Linked DNA regions of Homo sapiens: all the other regions are linked to region 1. Evidence: promoter capture Hi-C in human tissues and cell types (Jung and others, 2019). All regions are on one chromosome and are shown on one strand. The core of a region is centred on a gene start or on the middle of the fragment in contact, and the rest is flanking DNA. Distances in the headings are between cores, read along the strand shown. Region 1 holds the start of PAM16 (presequence translocase associated motor 16). Region 2 overlaps ADCY9 (adenylate cyclase 9). Region 3 has its middle 34 kb from the start of CREBBP. Region 4 overlaps ADCY9 (adenylate cyclase 9).

Evidence for each region. The method cuts DNA at HindIII sites, captures the fragments that hold promoters and counts their contacts. A contact is called where the count stands out against the background at its distance.
Region 2: a contact is called between a fragment that was not itself captured here and the fragment with the promoter of PAM16 in region 1, in 2 of the 25 tissues and cell types used here (liver and stomach).
Region 3: a contact is called between a fragment that was not itself captured here and the fragment with the promoter of PAM16 in region 1, in 3 of the 25 tissues and cell types used here (H1 embryonic stem cells, dorsolateral prefrontal cortex and mesenchymal stem cells).
Region 4: a fragment that was not itself captured here is called in contact with the fragment with the promoter of PAM16 in region 1 in 1 of the 25 tissues and cell types used here (dorsolateral prefrontal cortex).

Annotation. Positions count from the first base shown.
Region 1 is chr16:4,347,674-4,353,342 of GRCh38, forward strand. It overlaps PAM16 (presequence translocase associated motor 16), which reads right to left and starts at 3,648. Exons shown (of 5, transcript NM_016069.11): 1 at 3,559-3,648. The coding sequence starts at 3,561. All of the region lies in intron 27 of CORO7-PAM16 (CORO7-PAM16 readthrough), which reads right to left. RefSeq lists an enhancer at 1-176. The HindIII fragment of the contact is 27,496 bases long and covers 1-5,669 here.
Region 2 is chr16:4,065,135-4,070,733 of GRCh38, forward strand. All of the region lies in intron 2 of ADCY9 (adenylate cyclase 9), which reads right to left. Among named protein-coding and RNA genes, the nearest start is that of ADCY9, 49 kb to the right of the region's middle. The HindIII fragment of the contact is 6,066 bases long and covers 200-5,599 here.
Region 3 is chr16:3,912,076-3,917,926 of GRCh38, forward strand. No RefSeq gene overlaps it. Among named protein-coding and RNA genes, the nearest start is that of CREBBP, 34 kb to the left of the region's middle. The HindIII fragment of the contact is 5,064 bases long and covers 799-5,851 here.
Region 4 is chr16:4,046,171-4,052,105 of GRCh38, forward strand. All of the region lies in intron 2 of ADCY9 (adenylate cyclase 9), which reads right to left. LOC124900373 (a long non-coding RNA gene) reads right to left here. Exons shown (of 2, transcript XR_007064957.1): 2 at 4,102-5,935. Among named protein-coding and RNA genes, the nearest start is that of ADCY9, 67 kb to the right of the region's middle. The HindIII fragment of the contact is 8,638 bases long and covers 1-5,935 here.

The DNA of each region.
Region 1 (5,669 bases), core at 2,398-4,897:
AGCTGTGGCTACCATGGGTGACCAAAACAACCACTGCCTGAGGCCCCTCCCAGAGGCTCCAAACATCCCATAGTCCACCGACTGACACTTGGGCCTGAGGGTCCCAGGTGAGAGGACCCAGCTGACTTGGCATCCAACTTCAGGCCACGCGGCTGTCAGAGAGCAGCAGTCAGAAGCACAGGATCCAATCCTGGCATGCGTGGGGGCAGCATGTGCACTTCGTTGTTGGGCAGCAACCTGGCCCAAGGCAGGACCAGATCCCAGCAGCTGGGACCACAGACAGTGCTGTGGGAGGCACTCAGCAATGGGGCTTACACTGACTTGTGTCTTTGAGATTCGCGTGCAATGCGCCTTTGAGGCCAAGCCCCAGGCTCTGGGTAGATAAGCAGACAGCCTGAGACTCACTCTCAAGGACACTCTGGTCACCCAGGGCCCCTGAGAATAGATACGGGCATCACAACTAGACAGGAGAAAGGTCAGGACCACAACTGTAGCACGTGCCACAACATCAGGGACCTGGCCAGTGGCTGGCGCAGTAAGTGCCCCTGGTGCATCTGAATGAATATGGCTGTTGCAGCTTTGCCCAATCTGCTGTCTCATGAACTCCATGTCCCCAGGCAGGGTTTCCAAGCGCCTCCTAACCCTTCTGCGGGAGGGTTCTGGCCATCTCCCAGTAAACACACAATTCTCCACCGCCGCCTGCAGATTTGGTCCACTCCCCAGCTTGGCATTCACAGCGCCTGGTCTGGCCTCAACTTCTCAACCTCACCTCTCTCCACGCTGCAGCCACACCCTCTGCTCCTAGAGCCGCTCTCATACTTCTGTACTCCTCAGGGCCTTTGCTGTTCTGAGTTCCTCCACCTTGAACATCCTCCCTTCTACCCTGATCCTGTCAAAACCCAACATCCCTCAGGACCTAATATCATTCCCCATCCCCCGGGTGAAACCCTTTCCAGGCTCTCCCATGTATACCTTCCGACAGCACTTTCTTTTTTTTTTGGAGATGGAGTCTTGCTCTGTCGCCCAGGCCGGAGTGCAGTAGTGCGATCTCGGCTCACTGCAGCCTCTGCCTCCCGGGTTCAAGAAATTCTTCTGCCTCAGCCTCCTGAGTAGCTGGGACTACAGGCACACGCTGCCATGCCCGGCTAATTTTTTGTATTTTTAGTACAGAGAGGGTTTCACCGTGTTGCCCAGGCTGGTCTCGAACCCCTGAGCTCAGGTAATCCACCCAAAGTGCTGGGATTACAGGCGTGAGCCACCGTACCCGGCCTAGCACTTTCTTTTTTTTTTTTTTTTTTTGAGACGGAGTCTTGCTCTGTCACCCAGGCCGGAGTGCAGTAGCGCGACCTTCGGCTCACTGCAAGCTCGGCCTCCCGGGTTCAAGCCATTCTCCTGCCTCAGCCTCCTGAGTAGCTGGGACTACAGGTGCCTGCCACCACACCCGGCTAATTTTTTGTATTTTTAGTAGAGACGGGGTTTCACCATGTTAGCCAGGATGGTCTTGATCTCCTGACCTCGTGATCCACCCGCCTGAGACCCCCAAAGTGCTGGGATTACAGGTGTGAGCCACCGTGCCCGGCCAGCACTTTCTTTTCCTGTTAATATACTGTCATGCTGGGTGCGGTGGCTCACGCCTATAATCCCAGCACTTTGGGAGTCCGAGGCAGGAGGACTGCTTGGGCCCAGAAGTTTGAGACCAGCCTGGCAACATGGCGAAACTGCATCTCTACAAAAAATACAAAAAATTAGCTGGGCATAGTGGAGCATGCCTGTTGTCCCAACTACCCGGGAGGCTGAGGCTACTGGGGAGGATGAAATGGGAGGATCACCTAAGCCCCAGGAGGTTGAGGCTGCAGTGAGCTGTGATCGTACCACTGTACTCCAGCCTAGGAGACCCATCTGGGGCAACACAGCAAGACCCCACCTCTACATAAAATTTAAAAATTAGCCAGGTGTGCTGGCACTCACCTGTAGGCCCAACTACTTGGGGGTCTAAGGTAGGAGGATGGCTTGAGCCTAGGAGTTCAAGGCTGCAGTGAGCTAGGATCGCTCCACTGCATCCTAGCCGGGGCGACAGACAGACATCCTATCTCAAAAAACAAACCAAAAAAACCCCATGAGTTTTGGGACAGAGCTGGGCTCAAAAGAGGTCTCTGACACCATGGGATGCATGACTATGGTGGAGTCAAAACTGTCTGGGGCTCAGGTTCCTTATCTGTAAAATAAGGACAATGACAGCAGGACTTCATAAACACTAAATGAGAGACTCTACATAAAGCCTTAGCTCAGGGGCTGGCACTTGTACGCCGTTAGCTGTTACATTATCCTTATTACTATGTTAGTTAAGAAGTGGCTCCCCGAACCAGCTGCAACAGAGTCACTTGGGGAACTTACGTGTGCAGAACCTCCAGGGATAGAGCTCAAGAACCTGAACTTTTTTTTTCCCCCTCTTTTTCTTTTTGAGAGAGTTTTGCCCTGTCGCCCAGACTGGAGTGCAGTGGCACAATCTTGGTTCACTGCAGCCTCTGCCTCCTGGGTTCAAGCGATACTGGCGCCTCAACTTCCCAAGCAGCTGGGATTACAGGTGTGTGCCACCATGCCTGGCTAACATATGTATATATTATGTGTGTGTGTGTGTATATATATATATAAAATACATGATATATAAAAATATATATAACATAATAATATGTAGTATACATAAATGTATACGGTATATATAATACATATATATAATTTTTTTTTTGAGACGCAGTCTCACCCTGTCGCCCAGGCTAGAGTGCACTGGCGGATCTCGGCTCATTGCAACCTCTGTCTCGCGGGTTCAAGCGTCTGTCCTGCCTCAGCCTCCCGGGTAGCTTGGACTACAGGCGCGCACCACCCCACCCGGCTAATTTTTTAAATTTTTTGGTGGAGACCGGGTTTCATCATGTTGGCCAGGCTGGTCTCGAACTCCTGACCTCGTGATCCGCCGCCTCGGCCTCCCAGAGTGCTGGGATTACAGGCGTGAGCCACCGCGCCCAGCCAAACCTGCACTTTTAAAGCTACCCTAGGTGACCTGACAGTGTGGCGCAGGTCTGTTGACTGGCTCTACGTGCCAACGATATCACACAAACGCTCCGTGCTCGGTGTCTCGGGGCCTAGTTCAAGTCCCAGGTCAGCCACTTCCCTGGAAAGGCCAGCTTTCCACTGGGGATAACAACAGGGCAGCAACATCGACTCTGCAGCGCTGTAAGGTTCCAGGGCAGGGGAGGCGCTCACCAGCCAGACTCATGCTCCACCGCTGCCCACGGCTGCTCGCTCACACGCGGGCTAGGCACAGCGCGACCACGTTTGCCCGGCCTCTTCCAGGCAGACGGTTTTCCCTGGCCCTGAGGCCGCCGGTGCCGCCGCTGCCGGCCTCGATTCCCCCGGGTGCAACGCCCCCAGACCATGCTTCCCGCCGGGCACGCAGGGGGCGCACGGCGCCCGCCGCCCAGCCCGGAGCTCGCCGCCCGGCCCCCGGCCCCCGGCCCGACTCGGCTTCCCCTCCCCGGTAGCGCCCGACTCGGGGCTCACCATGGCAGCCGCTCTGCCTCCGGGGCTCAAACTCCGACTTCCTGGCCCCGCGGCCGGGGATCAAGCGTGGTCGGCGGGTCAGAGGTCAAGGAAAGCCGCAGAGAGCGCGTGCGCGATACGGCGCTGGGCATGCGCATTGCCTCAGTCTAAGGGCGGGCCACCGGGAGCGTCTTAGCGGCTCGGGGCGGGGTCGGAGGCGGGGTTTGACTGAGCCTGCGTCGGGCTCTGGATAACTGGGGGCGGGCTTGGGAGGGCAAGGGGCGTTACCGGGAGTCTCAATTGCCCGCGTGCTTACCCCAGTGCGCTGGAGCAGCTAAGCACATCGGTCAGACGTGGGGCGATTTCTGCCCTTGATTTTGCCAAAATATTTGGGAATGCAACATTATATGAAATCAATGAACATAATATGGAGTAGGATGCTAAATTCTCAAAAATACTTTAGAAAATAGAAAACTTCAAAATAGGTTTCATCCACATTCCTCCTGCCTGAGAAGCTCGTTCCCTTCTTCAAATCTTTGCTCAAATGTCACCTCAATGAGGCCCACCTGGACCCCTTAAAACGCCGTGACTTGCCCTCCATGAATGAAAAAAGTAACAGCTTTATTGAGATATAATCCATACACTGTAGATTTCATGATTTTCAAGTGCACAGTCCAATGCCTTTTATTCACAGAGCTGTGCCACTGTCACCACTATTAGTTCCAGAACGTTTTCATCACCCATTAGTCACTCCCCAGCCCCCTCCCCCAGCCCCTGTCAACCACTCATTTTTCTCTCTATGGATTCACAGGTTCCGGACATTTCATAGAAATGGAATCATACAAGCCAGGCGTGGTGGCTCATGCCTGCAATCTCAAAACTTTGGGAGGCCGAGGTGGATCGCTTGAGGTCAGGAACTCAAGGCCAGGCTGGGCAACATGGTGAAACCCCATCTCTACAAATACAAAAATTAGCCGGGTGTGGTGGCAGGTGCCTGTAATCCCAGCTACTTGGGAGGCTGAGTGGTGGATCTCTTGAGCCCGGGAGGTACAGGCTGCAGTGAGCTGTGATCACTGCACTCCAGCCTGGGTGACAGAGTCAGGCCCTGCCTCAAAAAAAAAAAAAAAAAAAAAAAAGGTAAAAATGAAAAATGAAAAAAAAGAAGAAATTGAATCATACAATGTGCAGCCTTTTGTGACTGGCTTATCCTCCCTTCTTGTCTCTATTTTTCTTCCAAGACTCTGATCACCCTCTACCATACCACATAATTTACTTATTTATTTTATTTATCATTTTGAGACAGGGTCTCACCCTGTCGCCCAGGCTGGAGTCCAGTGGCACAATCCTGCCTCACTGCAACCTCCACCTCCCAGGTTCAGGCGATGCTCATGCTTTAGCCTCCTGAGTAGCTGGGATTACAGGCATGGACCACCATGCCCCATTAATTTTTGAATTTTTAGTAGAGACAGGGTTTCACCATGTTGGCCAGGCTGGTCTTGAACTACTGGTCTCAAATGATCCACCCGCCACAGCCTCCCAAAGTGCTGGGATTATAGGCATGTGACACTGTGCCCAACCGGTTTTTTATTTTTAAATTATTTTTCCTTTTTTTTTTTTTTTTGAGATGAAGTCTTGCTCTGTCACCCAGGCTGGAGAGCAGTGGCCCAATCTTGGCTCACTGCGATCTCCACCTCCTGGGTTCAAGTGATCCTCCCACTTCAGCCTCCGAAAGTGCTGGGATTACAGGTGTAAGCCACCGTGCCCAGCCAAAAAAAAATTTTTTTTTTTCAAGATAGGGTCTCACTCTGTTGCCCAGGCTGCAGTACAGTAGCATGATCATGGCTCACTGCAGTCTTGACCTTCCAGCCTTGAGTGATACTTTCACCTCAGCTTTCTGAGTAGCTGGGACCACAGGCATGTGCCAACACATGTGGTTAATGTTTGTTTTTTGTCTTTTTGAGAGCGTCTCCCTGTTGCCCAGCCTGGAGTGCAGTGGCATGACCTCGGCTCACTGCAACCTCTGCTTCCTGGGTTCAAGAGATTCTCTTGCCTCAGCCTCCTGAGTAGCTGGGACTACAGGCATGGGCCACCATGTCCGGCTAATTTTTTGTATTTTTAGTAAAGACGGGGTT
Region 2 (5,599 bases), core at 1,983-4,482, 280 kb before region 1:
ATTGGAAAATGCCCCTCTCTCGTCATGTCGTTTGCACAGTAATTCACTTAGATCTGAACTGAGTACAAATGAGTGGTGCTCTAAGATCAAAGCACCAGGGTCTTTAAAATGATCTTCACTCTCCCCGCAACCTGCCCCGAACACGTGCATGCTCCTTTCACTTTCAATTCCAAACTGCACCCTTCTAACGCTGGCCGAAAGGGAAAGTAAGCCCTGTTTTCGTTTCCTTTCAAATACTTGATGCTTTCCAATTTTATTCCTATTTTCCCTAATGGAATAATACTTACTACTTGGAAAGCATCATTCATCTCCTCTCAAGATCCTCACAGCAACACCATGTTGCCAGAAGGGCAGGTGCGAAATCTGAAATAATGGCAGAAGTCGAATGTCGCACGTCAATGTACAGCCTCCCATCGAGGCCCATGGCTTTATTTTTATGTATTTATTTATTTATTGAGACGGAGTCTCACTCTGTCACCCAGGCTGCAGGGCAATGGCGCTATTTTGGCTCACTGCAACCTCCACCTCCCGGATTTAAGCAATTCTGCCTCAGCCTCCCGAACAGCTGGGATTACAGGCATGAGCCACCACACCTGGCTAATTTTTGTATTTTTAGTAGAGGCGGGGTTTCGCCATGTTGGCCAGGCTGATCTCGAACTCCTGACCTCAGGTGATCTGCCCGCCTCGGCCTCCCAAAGTCCTGGGATTACAGGCGCCCACTGCCACACCCGGCTCAGTTTTGTATTTTTAGTAGAGACTGGGTCTCACCATGTTGGCCAGGCTGGTCTCGAACTCCTGACCTCAGGTGATCTGCCCGCCTTGGCCTCCCAAAGTGCTGGGATTACAGGCGTGAGCCTCCGCGCCTGGACTAAGGCCCATGACTTTAGCAAGCGGGATGTTGTTTTCCACCTCCTGCTGCTGCCTCTTAAGGAACAGGGGCGCTTCTTCACCGCAGAGGAGACGGTTCTCCATTCTAGGAATGGGTATGAACTTGCCTGAATAGTCTATGATGGGCAATGGGGACGTTCCATCTACATCTCATTATGAAAATCCCCAAAAACCTTACAAAACCATATAATCGTGAAGTTTTAAGAAGTCTTAAATAGTTCTAATATATAATTCTCCACAAATCTTTTCTCTCTAAAAAACACTTATTTTTCTCATTTTGATATGCCACTTCAAAGCTTTTCCCACTCCTTGAGTATATTTACTTTTCTCTCTCCTCTCTCTAGTGACTGAGCAGTGATTTTACCTTTACCTATTTATTTAGAGATGGAGGTCTCACTCTGTTGCCCAGGCTGGAGTGCAGGGGCACGATCAGGGCTCACTGCAGGCTCCACCTCTCAGGTTCAAACAATCCTCCTACCTCAGCCTCCAGAGTAGCTTGGACCAAAGATGCATGTCACCACACCCAGCTAATGTTTTTATTATTTGTAGAAATGAGGTCTCGCTGTTGCCCAGGCTGGTCTCAAATGCCTGGGCTCAGGTGATCCTCCCGCCTCAGCCTCCCAAAGTGCTGGAATTATAAGTGTGAGCCACAGCTTCCCACTAACAATTTCACTTTTTAAAGAGATGGGTCATATTGTCCAGTAACATTTACATGAGATCCATGAAAAAAAAGTGAATATTATTCTTTAGAATAATAAACAATTCATATCACAAAATTAGCTTTAAAAGATTCCCGCTTGTAGGAGCTATTAGAATTTCAAAACTGCCCAGTTAAACATAACCTGGTTCATCCCAACGTTTTCATTTACATATAATTCAAAAAGATTTACTTTTCCATAAATTTCAAATGCTCTTCAGATGAAGGAAACATTCATCATTACATCAAAGCAAGTGCAACTTCAATACTAAATTTCCTGATCTTTTATACAATTAGACTGCAAGTGCTCATCTGAGACAGATTTAGAGAAAATTGCGGCTGATGCCCAGCTCTATGAAAGAGTTTTAAGAACTGAAATAACTTAAAAAAAATTAGAATCACAGAATGGGGGGAGATGAGAAAAAATTCATCCTAAATTAGAAATACGAACTCCTGCCCAAAGTGCAGGGTTTTTAAAAAATGGAATTGTTAAACAGATTGAAATAATATTTAGAAACAACACCAGCTCACAAGGGTAGTAAAATACTAATTCTTAAAATCGTTAAACAGATTGAAATAATGTTTGTCAATAACACCAGCTCACAAGGATAGTAAAATACTAATTCTTAAAATCCTCCCTCTTGCGCTATGCCTGCTTCTGAGTTGGCTGAGCAAGTTCCTTCCCTTCCCCAGGCTTCTAACAGTGAACATGATCTGGCAGCATTAGACACACCACAACTCCACTCCAGACCAAGATGGGTCTGGGTCAAACCCAGGACTTCTGCTTCAAATTAGGAGAGTTACCAAATTAAGACAATTCTGCCTCAACTGAGTCACCCTCCAGGGACAGCTGAGTCCATTTCCAGGGTAAGTACTGGGGTAGCTCTACCCACCCCAGAGAGATGTATTTTATGGTCTGTCCTAAACAGAACTGGACCCCCAGAGAAGTTCCGAGATCAGCACAGCCTGCAGCTGACCCTCGGGAGAGGGTCAATTCAGGGCATTTGCTGACCAAAAGGATGGATCTCCCTCACCGGGAGGTGGACTGCAACCTCCCAAACACTTTGCCACTGTAGCTAATGTGTGCAAACATTTACTTTGTGAATTTGTATCTTAGTAGCTTCACTAAGTCAGCAAAATCCAATCTCTGAATCTTTTTGTGGTGACTGAACTAACTCTATGTTGCACTTTTGGTGAAAAACTGCAACATAGAATTTAATTAATTCTTTAATTAAATGGGTTAAGGGAAAAACCGTGGCAATAATTTTTTTTTTCCTCTTTCACTTTTGGGATTTGAGGTCTTCAAATAAGTTTTTCTAATTGTAGGGAAAACAAAGTCTTTTAATAATTACCATTAATGATTTATAATTTAAGCAGTTTAGGAAATAAAAAATGCATAGAACATGATATTCTCATACCCAGACAAGCTCATATCCCACCTGCACCCCTTTACAGTCAAGGATGATTTTGCATCTCCTTTCCTCACTTAAGTGCCTTTTTTGCCAACTAGGATAACTCATATAATGAATTTTTGCCAACTAGGAAAACTCATATAATGGCTTTTTTTAAATCTGGTTTTTCTAATAATAAAATCATATCTGTTGCAAAAAAAAAACAAAGCAAAAAAAATATTAGTACAAGTTCCTCTAATCCCACTGTAAAGAACACGCGCTATATATAAATTTGTATATATCCTTCAATGCATGTATTATTATCTCTCTAGACCCACATTATTAAACACGCTATTTTATGGAAAATGAGATCATGTTTTACATATGGTACAGTTGCTTGCTTTTTTCAATTCACAGTTCATGGCCGGGCACGGTGGCTCACACCTGTAATCCCGGCACTTTGGGAGGCCTAGATGAGCGGATCATGAGGTCAGGAGATCGAGACCATCCTGGCTAACACGGTGAAACCCCGTCTCTACTAAAAATACAAAAAAAAATTAGCTGGGCATGGTGGCGGGCGCCTGTAGTCCCAGCTACTCAGGAGGCTGAGGCAGGAGAATGGTGTGAACCCAGGAGGCGGAGCTTGCAGTGAGCCAAGATCGAGCCACTGCACTCCAGCATGAGTGACAAAGCGAGACTCCATCTCAAAAAAAAAAAAAAACAATTCACGGTGGCTCTTTTGCACATATGGGTACACGCAGATCTATCTCATTCTTACAAATGGTTACAACTATTCCACCATAAGGACAGACCATAATTTCCACCTAATAGATGTTCAAGTGATTTCCCACTTTCTGCTATTACAAGAAAGACAGTAACCAAGATTCTCATACATACATTTTTGTACTTGTGCAAATATTGCCATAGGGTAAATCCCTAAAAGTGAAAGGACTTGGTCAAATGGCATGACATGTGAAATTCTGAAGATATGCAAAATGTCCTCAAAAAGGTTTCTGCAATTCGTAGTCCCACCAACAGTGTTTCAGAGGGCCTGCGTTCCCTTTCCTCTCACCACCAACAACTAGAATCAATTTTTTCATCTTTACGAATCAAAGAGATTTTTCAAATTTTTTTTCTTATTTCAATATGCTGTTGTTGTAAGTTATTATTATTATTATTATTATTATTATTAGGGGGATTGTACATTTAGCCCACCGCACACTAGCTGCATGACCTAGAGAAGTAATTTAATATCCCGGTTCCTTGGTTGTAAAATGCAGATAATGAAAGTAACATCTACTTCTCGGGGGAGCCGTGAAGATGTAATGAGCGAAGGCATCTCAGACACTTGGTGCCGAGTCTGACAGAGTGGGGCTTCAACAAAGGTTGGAAGAACAACGAATAAATAGAATATATTCTATGAACAATGAATAAATGGAATATATTCTATCAGGGTGACTTACCAGAGTTACCTCACTCATCACCAATTTGGCTGCTGTTCAATTTTTGCTATTCTCAATTATATTCGTATCATTGAGTAAATTATTCTCTTGTATCTACAGGACCATCTTCTAAGGCGACTCTCCCAGGATTCGGACAGTGTTACAGTTCTTACTTCTGTTCTTTAGAAGAAGTGAACCAGCAACAACAGGCCACCCATCAAGTTTTAGAAAATTTTCTCTGCCTTAAAAAGTATATAATGCGGCCAGGCATGGTGGCTCACACTTGTAATCCCAGCACTTTGGGAGGCTGAGGCAGGTGGATCACTTGAGGGCAGGAGTTTGAGACCAGTCTGCCCAAGATGGTGAAACCCTGTCTCTACTAAAAGTACAAAAAAATTAGCCAGGCGTGGTGGCACATGCCTGTAATCCCAGCCACTCAGGAGGGTGAGGCACAAGAATTGCTTGAACCCGGGAGGCAAAGGTTGCAGTGAGTTAAGATTGCGCTACTGCACTCCAGCCTCGGCAACAGAGTGAGACTCTGTCTCAAAAAAATATGTATGTGTGTGTATGTGTGTGTGTGTGTGTGTGTGTGTACTTTTAAGGCATTCTCTTTTGTACTTTTAAAATTACTAGTAAGGACATACATTTCCATATCACTCACTGTTTGTTGTATAGAAAATAAGCTTTATCGTTATAATTTTCACGCATATATTTTTCTCCAAATTATGACCTGGAAAAAAAACTTGCAGCTAGTAACTGGAAAACTGGGTAACATATATTTATAAAAGACAAACACACATGTATTTCTTATATGTGGCTTTTCTCTACCAGTAAAGAATAGGATGTGGATGAAAGTTTCAAATAATATTATGTTATAAACCTTATATAATTACTGAACTCAACAAAACTTTTGAAAAATAACCAAGTAGAAGTTATTTTTAGAAACCTGGAATGTCATTCCACCTAACAGAAATTAAAACTGGCTGGGCCTGGTGGCTCACACCTGTAATCCCAGTGCTTTCGAAGACCAAGGCAGGAGGATCGCTTGAGTCCAGGAGTTCAAGTCCAGCCTGGGCAACATAGAGAGATCCTTTCTCTTTAAAAAGAAAAAAGCGAAGTGCAGTGGCTCACACCTGTAATCCTATCACTTTGGGAGGCCGAGGCAGGAGGACTACTTGACC
Region 3 (5,851 bases), core at 2,081-4,580, 440 kb before region 1:
GGTGCTGAGTGCCTATAATCCCAACTACTTGGGAGGCTGAAGCAGGAGAATCACTTGAACCCAGGAGGGGGAGGTTACAGTGAGCCAAGATCACACATGTGACAGAGCAAGATTCCGTCTCAAAAAACAAAAGTCAAACCAAATCAAATCAAAAGGCAGCAACTGAGAAAGACATTCATCTTCAAGGAAGATGCAGGTGGCTGCTGAGAGAGAGGCGGGTTTCGGCACGTGGCCATGTGTGCCTACTCATGGAAGTTCCCCAGAAGACCTTTGTTCGTGGAAGTGATGAGGCTGTGATTCCATTTGTGTGGCGCTTTCTCTCTTTGCCCCATGCCCCCCTCTCCCCTCTGTGATGTCCATGGGCAACGGGGGGCCTTGGAAGAACCTGGGAATGAGGCTGAGTCCCAGCCTGGAGCCTGCATCTCATTGCCTGTAGAGCGAGGCCGCTCTCGTCACCTCCTGCCAGTTGTCATGAGGCTCAGATGAGGTGATGGGGAGAGAGGATGCAGCACAGCAAACTGGGCTTTCGACCCGGGAGGGGCCACGTGGCTCATCTACAGGCTTTGCCACCACTAGCAGGCAACTCTGGGCAAGCTGGGTTCTCAGAACCTGGATTTCCTCTTGCTAAGAAGTCGTGAGCATCTAAGGAGCGTAGGCGCTGCCCACCGAATGGTGGTTACCAGATCATGGAAAGCAATGAGCTCAGTGCCTAGTGCATAATGGGGGCCCTGCGTGTGAATCCTTTCCCTTCCTTAGGGCCACTCGGTGGTACATGAAGAAGCCATGAGAGCAGGGATGAGGCTGCCTTTGAGTGTCCTGGGCTGGGTGGCCATAGGGTAGACTGCAGGGGGCCCAGGTGGGGACCGGCATCCATGAACTGTGTCTTGGTCACCAACTCACTGTGAATGTATGGCTTCTACTAACTCTGAGGCACATGGATGTTTAATGACTTGCCCAAGCCCAGCCCCAGCTGAAACTGCAGCGTCCTGTCTACCGTGGGCTCTAAATGATGATGAAATCATGTTTGGTCCACAAGACTCATGACCCTTAGAATCCCTTAAACTGCAGCATGCATGATTTTGTGCATCCATGCACAGATGCGTGGACTGTCTAACAGTTCTCTTTTTGGGATAATTTTTTTTTTTTTTTTGAGACAGAGTCTCGTTCTGTCACCCAGGCTGGAGTGCAGTGGCGCAATCTCAGCTCACTGCAACCTCTACCTTTCAGGCTCACGCGATTCTTGGGCCTCAGCCTCCTGAGTAGCTGGGACTACAGACATGCACCACCATGCCCAGATAATTTTTGTGCTTTTTTTTTTTTTTAAGTAGAGATGTGGTTTTGCCATGTTGGTCAGGCTGGTCTTGAACATCTGGCCTCAAGTGATTCACCTGCCTCAGCCTCTCCCAAAGTGCTTGGATTACAGGCGTGAGCCACTGTGCCTGGCCTGCAATAATATTTAAAAAAAAAAAAAAAAGTAAGACTAGTCAATTGCAGCAGTAAGAATTTTTTTTTTTTTTTTTTTTTTTTTTTTTTTTTTGAGATGGAGTCTCACTCTGTCGCCCAGGCTGGAGTGCAGCGGCATGATCTCAGCTCACTGCAAGCTCCGCCTCCCAGGTTCATGCCATTCTCCTGCCTCAGCCTCCTGGGTAGCTGGGACTACAGGTGCCCGCCACCATGCCCAGCTAATGTTTTGTATTTTTAGTAGAGACGGGGTTTCACCATGTTAGCCAGGATGATCTCGATCTCCTGACCTCGTGATCTGCCTGCCTCGGCCTCCCAAAGTACTGGGATTACAGGCATGAGCCACCGCACCCAGTCTTTTTTTTTTTTTTTTTTTTTTTTGAGACGGAGTTTTGCTCTTGTCTCCAAGACTGGAGTACAGTGGCATGATCCCAGCTCACTGCAACCTCCGCCTCCTGGATTCAAGCGATTCTCCTGCCTCATCCTCCCGAGTAGCTGGGATTACAGGCGCGTGCCGCCATGCCCAGCTAATTTTTGTATTTTTAGTAGAGACAGGGTTTTGCTATGTTGGCCAGGGTGATCTCGAACTCCAGACCTCAGGTGATCCACCCGCCTTAGCCTCCCAAATTCCTGGGATTACAGGCATGAGCCACTGTGCCCAGCCAAGATTTTTATTTATTTATTTGATTTTTTTTAGAGACAGAGTTTCTCTCGGTCATCCAGCCTGGGGTACAGTGGCAAGACCATAGCTCACTGCAGCCTTGAATCCCTGGGCTCAAGCAATCCTCCTGCCTTAGCTTCCTGAGTAGCTGTGACTATACATGTGGACCACCACGCCCGGGCAGTTCTAACTTTTTCTCATAGAGACTGGGCACTAAGTTGCCCAGGATGGTCTCGAACTTACAGGCTCAAGCAATCCTCCCACCTCTTCTTTCCAAAGTGCTGGGATGACAGGCGTGACCCACTGTGCCTGACCAAGATAAATACTGAATGCTTAGCGCCAAATAGCAGATGAATAAGGAGGGCTGATGTCTGCAGGGTTTACCCCATTGCGTTGTACAACAGGCCTTGGCAGCCCTAAAACAAGCAGACGGGTTGTTTGTCACCGGGATCAGGAGACAGCAGAGCTTTGTCAAGCTGCCTTGCTGGGGTGAGCTGCAGTGGGAGTTGGACTCTCCCACGACACAGAGACGGATGCAAGATCCAGGACTCGCGCCTCCTTGGTGCTCTCCTGCTACCTGGTGGCCTCTTCTTTCCTTTAGTCCTCTGTCCCTCTTCCACTTCTCTCTGCCTCCTCCACCCGTTCCTGCAGGCGTCTGGCCATCACCTTCGATGGGTGCTTCTGTTCATCTTTACCACTCTGAACCCTCCAAAATAGCCCCCATGCAAACCAGGACGTATATGACCTCCCACGGGCAACAACAACAGCGGAGTTTACCTACTTCAATTGCAAGACGCTCCTTGGAGGGTAGAAACAGTTCTGGGACAAACGCATTTGATGTGAATGGGCCCCACTCTCTCCTGATCCACAAAGCTTCCTGTCCTGCCCTCTTGAGGGCCCTGACCTCATCCTTCCCTCTCAGTCCAGCCTCTCTCGGGAGTTTGACTTGTATGGTGCAAATTGAAGGCCCACATAGAGTAAGAATGGATCTTGATGGGGTCACAGCACACCTGGACTGATGGCGAGAAGTCCAGCCCTGTAGAAGTAGTCCTAGGGCCACACCATGACAATTAATGTGCAAAACGTGGCCACCCCTCTGAATGGTGACAATGGTGACAATAGTTGGACCATCCTCCAACAGCAGACACCCACTGAGTGCTTACCCTACCGGGAGGGCTGAGTCAAGCTCTCTCTACGCATGATCTTGTTGACTCCTCACAACCGCTCTGGGAAGTAGATGCCCCTATTCCCCTTTTACGAATGGATCACCCTAAGCTCAGGAACATATCCAAGGACAGCAGGACACCAAGGCCCATCCGATCTCACAGTGACAGCATTGAGTCCCACACCGCACAGAGGGCGGGGCTGGCACACTCCCCACAGCGTGGGGAATCTGCACTTAATTGCATAGCAGGGAGTGATCACACAAGTTCTGTCACATACCAACACTGCACGCCCCTCTGGCTCTTCCACCACGAAGCACGTCCTGGTGATGGACGCAGGGCAGGGAGAGGAGGAGAGAGGAGACCTCGGGTTCTGCCTTCCCCAGCCCCTCTCTGCTGGGCACATGGAGATCCACCTGGCAGTTGGCCCCTCTGGGCCTTGAGCCAGTCTGGCACAGGCAATGTACCGTTCGGTGGCATCTGGACCCATGTTTGTGCCTTAAGCATGACAGGTGGCCCTGGCTCAAACTTCCTGGGCTCCTTCTCCCTGTTTCCTGATGGGGGAAACCCTAGTTTTGGGCCCAGGCTGGGACCTGGGATGGACTCAGATGCTTTGGAAATGTATGTTGGGCTGGTGGGTCGGGCCTCACCAGAAGCTTGTGCACAGGCCAAGGAGCTTCCAGGAAATCACTCACCCGTGGAAGGGAGGAGCCAGGCCCAGTGAGCTGACCTGGAATAGTTAGTTACATGGCCTATCACATACCAACACCGCACACCCCTCTGGCTCTTCAGACCCTGTGGCATACGTAGCCAGGGAGCAGGAGGAACCTGGGGGTGCATATACGCCATAAGTAAAGATGAGCTGATTTACCCTATAAAACAGGGCACAGACACTGCTTTGGTGATGATAGTAGCCACCAGTAGTCCAGAGAGAGCAGATGCAGCCTGGTGAAGCCGTAGCAGCCAATTTGTTTGAGTGCACACATAGACACAGCCTTCAGTGACATCTTCTCAGGGGCTGTAGCAAGGTCAGGGTGAGAGCTGGCCGGGTTATGACTGCCTTCTTCCCATGAGGGCAGCATGCACCAGAGAAAGGACATGGGCTCTGGGGAGCTTGGTTCTTTTTTTTTTTTTTTTTTTTTTTTTGAGACAGAGTCTTACTCCCATCACCCAGATCACCTAGGCAGGAGTGCAGTAGCACAATCATGGCTCATTGCAGCCTTGACCTCCTGGTATCAAGTGATCTTCCTGTCTCATTTTTTTTATTTTTGGTAGAGACAAGGTCTAACTATGTTACCCAGGATGGTTTCAAACGCTTGGACTCGAGTGATCCTCCTGCCTCAGCCTCCCAAAGTGCTGAGATGACAGGCATGAGCCACTACACCTGGCCGGGAGCTGGATTCTAATCTCATTCGCACCACTTCCTTGTGTGTGATCTGGGGCAAGTTAATTAAAGACTCTTAAACTGGGATGTGAATGCCGCTGCCTGCTGTGGTTTAAAATATATCCACAACAAACTCTTTGATATTCCTCCCTTTAAGAGGTGGAGCCTCATCCCCTGCCGTTGAATGTGGGATGGAATTAGTGGATCACTTCTAAATGATAAGGCAGGGGTGACACTGTGTGACCTTGGGGACTGGTCATAAAAGGCCTGTGGGTTCCTACTTTTTCCCTCCCTTGCTCTCAGATCCCTCCTCTGGGGAAAACCAGCTGCTATGTCATTAAAACAGCACTGTGTTGGCCACTGGTGAAGACCAAACCCTCCAGCCAGCAGCCACAAGAAGGCGCCATCTTGGAGGTGGCTCCTCCAGCCCCAGTTGAGCCTTCAGATGATAGCAGCCCCAGCCGACATCGTAAATGCAACCTCACAAGAGACCCCGAGCCAGAACCACCTGGATTAAAACGACCATGATGTTCCTGAATTCCTGACTACAGAAACTGTGAGATAATGAATTTTTGTTGTTTTAAGCTAATATGTTTTGGGGGGTAACTTGTTACACAGCAATCGATAACTGATAGACTCATCTGCAGGTACGTGCCAGGATTTACTGAGCCAACATACACAAGGCGCCAGATGTCCACTGGACCCTCAGTCTGATCAGCTCCTTGCCACACTGAGGTCTCAGCAGCCCCTTCCTCATGGCGGCAAGGTTTGGACTGTGGTTATGCCCACTCAGGGTCCGGCCCTCCAGCCAGGTTCCTGGCTGCCCCCTCCTTTTCCCCAGGCTTGCCTTTCCCCTGGCCTTGCCCACGAGAGACCCTGTCACACTGGGGAGGCCTGTGCTCTCTTCTAAACAAAGGATCAAAGAAATCGGTTTGTATGCTGTTAAACATTTAAAAAAATTTTTTTTAAAGAGATGGGGCTCTTACTATGTTGCTTGGGCTGGACTCGAACTTCTGGCCTTGAGCAATCCTCCCACAGCAGCCTCCCAACTACCTGGGACAACAGGCACACCACTGTGCCTAGATCATATCACTTTTTGCACAAAACCCTTCCATGGTTTCCCTTTACCCTTACAGTAAAAATCCCAACCCGTGGCCGGGCGTGGTGGCTCACGCCTGTAAT
Region 4 (5,935 bases), core at 3,012-5,511, 300 kb before region 1:
ATGACGAACCTGAGCTGAGCCTTAAGTATCTGTCCGGAGTCGCAGAAGCAATCAGCACAGTGCCCAGCACTGAACCACGGCACACAGTGCCCAGCACTGAACCACAACACCCAGTGCCCAGCACTGAACCATAGCACATGCGCATTCCCCCCACGCCCCCGAACTTATATTCGTCACCATATGTTGTGCAGATCCACGAATGGGCAGAGTCACAATTCTCACATGAGCTTTGTAAATAAGGAAAAACTGCATGGGCCAGCACACGTTGCTTGTGTGTGTGTGTCCTAAGCACTGATGACAAATGCAGAACCAACAACATTCCCACTCATCCAGAGGAAATCGTGAGTTCTCAATGAGCAGGCTGGGAGTAGCTTAGTAGTCATTTCCAAAGCACTGTGAAACTTGTCTACTTCATGAAAAAGTACTGAGGCTGTTTTACAGCCCTTTAACTTAAATCTAGTAATTGTGCCTATCAGAGTTCTGAAGAAAATAAGACTCAATAATCTAAGCTACTAGTTCACGCAGATCATCTTAAAGCAAGATTTTCCACAGACCTCACATATCGAGGTGACATGATCCTTTTCTAAAATGAAAGAGCTTCGCTAGAGCCCAGAAGTTCGAGACCAGCCTGGGCAACATAAGTGAGACCCCGTCTCAACAAAACAACAAAAAAAAAGTTTTTTTTTTAAATTATCCAAGTGTGCTGGCATGCACCTGCAGTCCCAGCTACTTGGGAGGCTGAGGTAGGAGGACTGACTGAGCTCTGGAGGTCGAGGCTGCAGTAAGCTATAAGTACGCCACTGGACTCCAGCCTGGTCAACAGAGCAAGACCCAATCTAAAACAAAAAACAAAAAACTACGAAAACATATTCCACAAAAAAGATTTGTACATAAGGACTGTATATAAGATTGTTTCTAGGCAGACATTGAATGCTAATTTCTTCGTTTTTTAAAAAAAATGAAATAGCTTAACTATAACCATCTAAACTACAAAGTATCTTTTTTAAGTTCTAAAATATTAGGATTTATAAAGTAAATAAAATTCTATGACAGCATGGAGCCATTTTCATCCAGGATGTTTGGACACCCTTCTCCTTTTTTTGAGACTCCATCAAAGAAAGAAAGAAAAGAGAGAAAGGAAGAGATAAAAAGAAAGAGAGAGCTAGCTTAGCAAAAATCATCTAAACTACAAATTATCTTAATTCTAAAATATTAGAATTTATAAAGTAAATAAAATTCTGTGATGTGGTTTCTCTAGTTAAGGGCCTGGGGGACTTACACAGCTGTTACGAAGACATTATTTAAAAAAATCTTCAGTTCTCCCTGGGGGGCAATTGGATTGACAATTGCAATTCCTTTGTAACCAATGGGCTTCTGTGTGAGCTGTTAGACGCACACTGGTATTCGTTCAAGATGGAAAACCAAACAACATGGACACAACCCATGACAGCCTTCAAAGTTCTGTCTGCATGACCAATCAGGTCCTTTGGTTGAAATCCATGACCAATCAGGTCCTTTGGTTGAAATCCATGACCAATCAGGTCCTTCGGTTGAAATCTATGACCAAGCAGGTCCTTGGTTGAAATCCACGTTGGCCAGGCTGATCTCGAACTCCTGACCTCAGGTGATCCGCCCGCCTCGGCCTCCCAAAGTGCTGGGATTACAGGCGTGAGCCACCGCATCCGGCCAGAGTGTGTTGTTTTCTCATTGCAGTCCCTAACTTGCCCTGAACCCTCCCTTACCCAGGTAGCCACGAAGCATCTGGTGACTGAGGCCTGGGAGTGAGCCCTGGAGGTTCTGGCTGACGCTCTGCCGTGACCCACTTGGGGCTTCTGTGACGTCCCCTTCAGCCTGACAAGAGGACCCAGTTCTCCTCTGTGCTCACCCTGAACAAAACAGGTCCTAGTCTGGGAAGGGCGCCAAAGAGAGATCTTTTCACTGGTTTCTGTTCCCTGTCATTTTTGGGGGAGGGTGGGCTGGGGAACACAAACACCCAATAATTGGAAATTGTCAGACATACAAAAAAGAAATGTAATTAGTCATAAACCCTATTTTAAGGTTATATTTGCACTGCCATTTTAAAATGAGAAAACACTAATAACATTAAAATGAAGTCTTTGTTAAAAGTAACCATGCATTGTTCAAATTTCCATTTGTTCTTTGTTTGACAATGAAAAATCATTCTAAATTAGTTCCATACACTTACTGTGAAACACAACAGTTTATTCCTGGGTCACATTCTCCCCCTTCTGTGGTTTATATAACTTCTCTTTGTTCCGCAAATGGCAGTACAATGGCAAACAAAATAAAATGGAGTTTATTATGAAAATGGATCCATTAAGCTACCTAAGAATAACATAGCCCTACAACTCCTGCACTTGTAGAGGGACACGGGTGAGATGAAACGGACGTCAGTACCCCTGCAAGAATCACACAGATAGGCCCCTCGGTGCACCTGGAGAGGGAGGCCACAATGGCAAATAATAGGAGACACAGCGATGCCCCACTCCCTTCTTTCCCAAGAGCTGCCATTTCTGCCCTTGCTGGATAAGCTCAGTGTCTCACACAGCGTGAGCGTCCACTAGATGCTGGCTTGGACAGGCGATGCTGAGGGTTCCCATAGACGGCACTCTAGTAGGGCTGCTCAAGTCCCTCCTCACAATCCAGAGGATCTCACCTAGGCAGGGCCCATGGTCACTCCCCAGGAGAAGAGCCAGGAATGTCCCCATCAAGCAAAACCCCTGGTCTCCAGCTCACAACTCAAAACCCAAGCAAATGAAGGAAAAGCTCCTGGGACCATCAGGACTCATAACGACCAAGGGTCAGTCATGGTATCAGGAAATCGTAATCCTGGCTCAGAAAGGTTTTAAATACAGGGAAGCAGAAGGCTGGGGCAGCAAAGGACACTACTAAGAGCAAGCGACTCACAGGGCTCACCCGGAAGGCATTACAAACTGGAATTCCTAAAAGAGTGGTTGCCAAGCTCACCCAGAAGAGGAGGTCCCACTGGTCCCTGAGTCTGCTCCAAACGGCCACGCACAGCGTGGGCATCCTCTCCCCTGCTTTCCATTGCTGTACAGAACCTGACCTGGGACCAGAGAGAAGAGGGTCCAGGGAAATGCTGCTGAAGGCTTCGTCTCTGCAGTGGAGAGAAAGTCGGAAGGGGCAGCACCCACCCCTAGCTGCCCATAGATGACCAGGCACAGGCACCCACCACCGACACTGGCACAATCCCCCAACATGTTCTCAGACCAGACCAAGACCCTAGCCGAGCCCAAGGATGCTGGCTAATCAAATAGTAAACACCTTTGGCCAGATTATCCTTAAAAAGTCTCTGGAATGTCACCTTCAGTCTCTGTAGTCTACTTTCTAACATACTTCTGAGCCGAAACCACGTGAAAAGATTTTTCTTCTGACTACAAGGCAGAACAATAAAAGTGACCCTCTGAGTCAAAAACACCACATGAAACTCACCTCCCGCCTCCAACCCATCCCTTCCGCATCCTTCATGTCCACCGTCCCTTTACCAACAACCAGCTGATTCTTCCAGACTTCAAAATCTTTCAGATTAACCCAGAAATATCGATAAGGGAGGCCTTTTTCTTAGCTTATGTTGTATATGTTTTTCTGTTTAGGCTACTGCTATAAAGAACTATCCACCAGCCTGGGCAACAAGGTAAGACCGACCCTGTTTCTACAAAAAATACAAAAGTAGACGGGCATGATGGTGTACACCTGTAGTCCCTGCTACTCAGGAAGCTAGGGTGGGAGGACTGCTTGAACCCAGGAGTTAGTGGCTGCAGTGAGCCGAGATCACACCACTATACTCCAGCCTGGGTGACAGAGTGAGACTGTGTCTCAAAAAAAAAAAAAGAACTATCCCGAGAGTCCACTGTTGGGGGCCGAAGTGGGGGTGGGGACCCTTGGCTGCCATGTTCCTGGGCCAGGAACATGGACTGGATGGCCTGCATGTCAGAAGACTGGTGACATACAAGGGTCAATAAATAAAAACAGTTAATATGATAAGAGCTGTTACTGTTATTGTTAGAAAAGAGGGGCACAGCCAAGGAAAGGGGAGAAAGCTGAAACAAACCATTTGACTTGGATGGTATCATGATTTTTATATGAGATGAATGGATACATAGATACGAGCGGGACAGATGGATACAAAGAACTACAAACGCATGTGTGCCCGTGTGTGTATGTACAAACATATGTGTACGTGTAGGGAAGTACATGCATATGTTTAATTTCCTAGCTATGCCAGGCGCGGTGGCTCATGCCTGTAATCCCAGCACTCTGGGAAGCCAAGATGGATGGGTCACCTGAGGTCAGGAGTTTGAGACCCAGCCTGACCAACATGGTGAAACCCCGTCTCTACTAAAAATACAAAATTAGCCGGACGTGGTGGCGCATGCCTGTAATCCCAGCTACTAGGGAGGCTGAGGCAGGAGAACTGCTTGAACCGGGAGGCAGAGGTTGCGGTGAGCCAAGTTCCTGCCACTGCATGCCAGTCTTGGCAACAAGAGTGAAACTCCGTCTCAAAAAAAAAAAAAAAAAAAAAAAATTCCTAACTACGCTGCTTGAGAAGTCCTTGTAGCCGTAATAGCCCAGTAGCGTGAACACACCTAATACTTAGATCCTGGTTTCTAAAAACCACTTTCTACTAAAAGGAACCAGGGCTTATTGGAGAAATGGCTGATTCCAGGGCTGGAGCAAGGAAAGTTCCGGGTGAGCCTAGAACCAAGAACTAAACATGTGGCCGGGAGCAGTGGCTCACACCTGTCATCCCAGCACTTTGGGAGGACGAGGCAGGCAGATCACCTGAGGTTACAAGTTGGAGATCAGCCTGGCCAACATGGTGAAACCCCATCTCTACTAAATATACAAAAATTAGCTGGGTGTGGTGGCGCACGCCTGTAATCCCAGCTACATGGGAGGCTGAGGCAGGAGAATTGCATGGACCCAGGAGGCAGAGGTTTCAGTGAGCCATGATCACGCCATTGCACTCCAGCCGGGGCAACAGAGTGAGATTCCATCTCAAAAAAAACAAAAACAAAAACGAAAAAACCTGGCCAGGCATGGTGGCTCTCACCTGTAATCCCAACACTTTGGGAGGCTGAGGCAGGCAGATCACGAGGTCAGGGGATTGAGACCATCCTGGTTAACACAGTGAAACCCCGTCTCTACTAAAAATACAAAAATTAGCCGGGCGTGGTGGCGGGCGCCTGTAGTCCCAGCTACTCGGGAGACTGAGGCGGGAGAATGGCGTGAACCCGGGAGGCGGAGCTTGCAATGAGCAGAGATCACGCCACTGAACTCCCACCTGGGCAACAGAGCAAGACTCCATCTAAAAAAAAAAAAAAAAGAAGAAGAAGTAAAGATGTGCTCAAAGAATGACATGAACACATCAAAAGAACACAGGGGCCAGCTTGGAGGCGCTGCTTTTGGCCAAATCTGGGACAATCTGGGTATCGAAGCAAATGATAATGGTAATGAATTATAACCCAATGGGTAAAATAGGAGTCTATGAGTGTATTGATAGGAAGGAGAGAAAGACAGCAGGCAAGCTCCAGCTTGCAGTGGAATGCCAACTAATCAATGCAAAAGAAACAATGCAACTAGAAACATCACCATTTGGCAATGCTCATACTAATTCCCTCAGGCAAGAATCATCCCAGGATGCTAAAACAAATGGGCAAAAAGCTTAATGAGAAACAGGATATTTTCCGAGTCCCCAAAAAATCTCCCCACCAGAAACAGTACTTTTTAACTGATAATTACAAAATACCAACAAATTAATTTTACAGTGGAGAAACCTGGTAGACACCACCTCAACCAAATGATAAGTTAACTTCTCCAGAAATGGGACTGATCAGACCTGTGTGCGTTCCTGTCGTGACAACCCTGCAGGGACTCTCCTGCCAGGAACCTA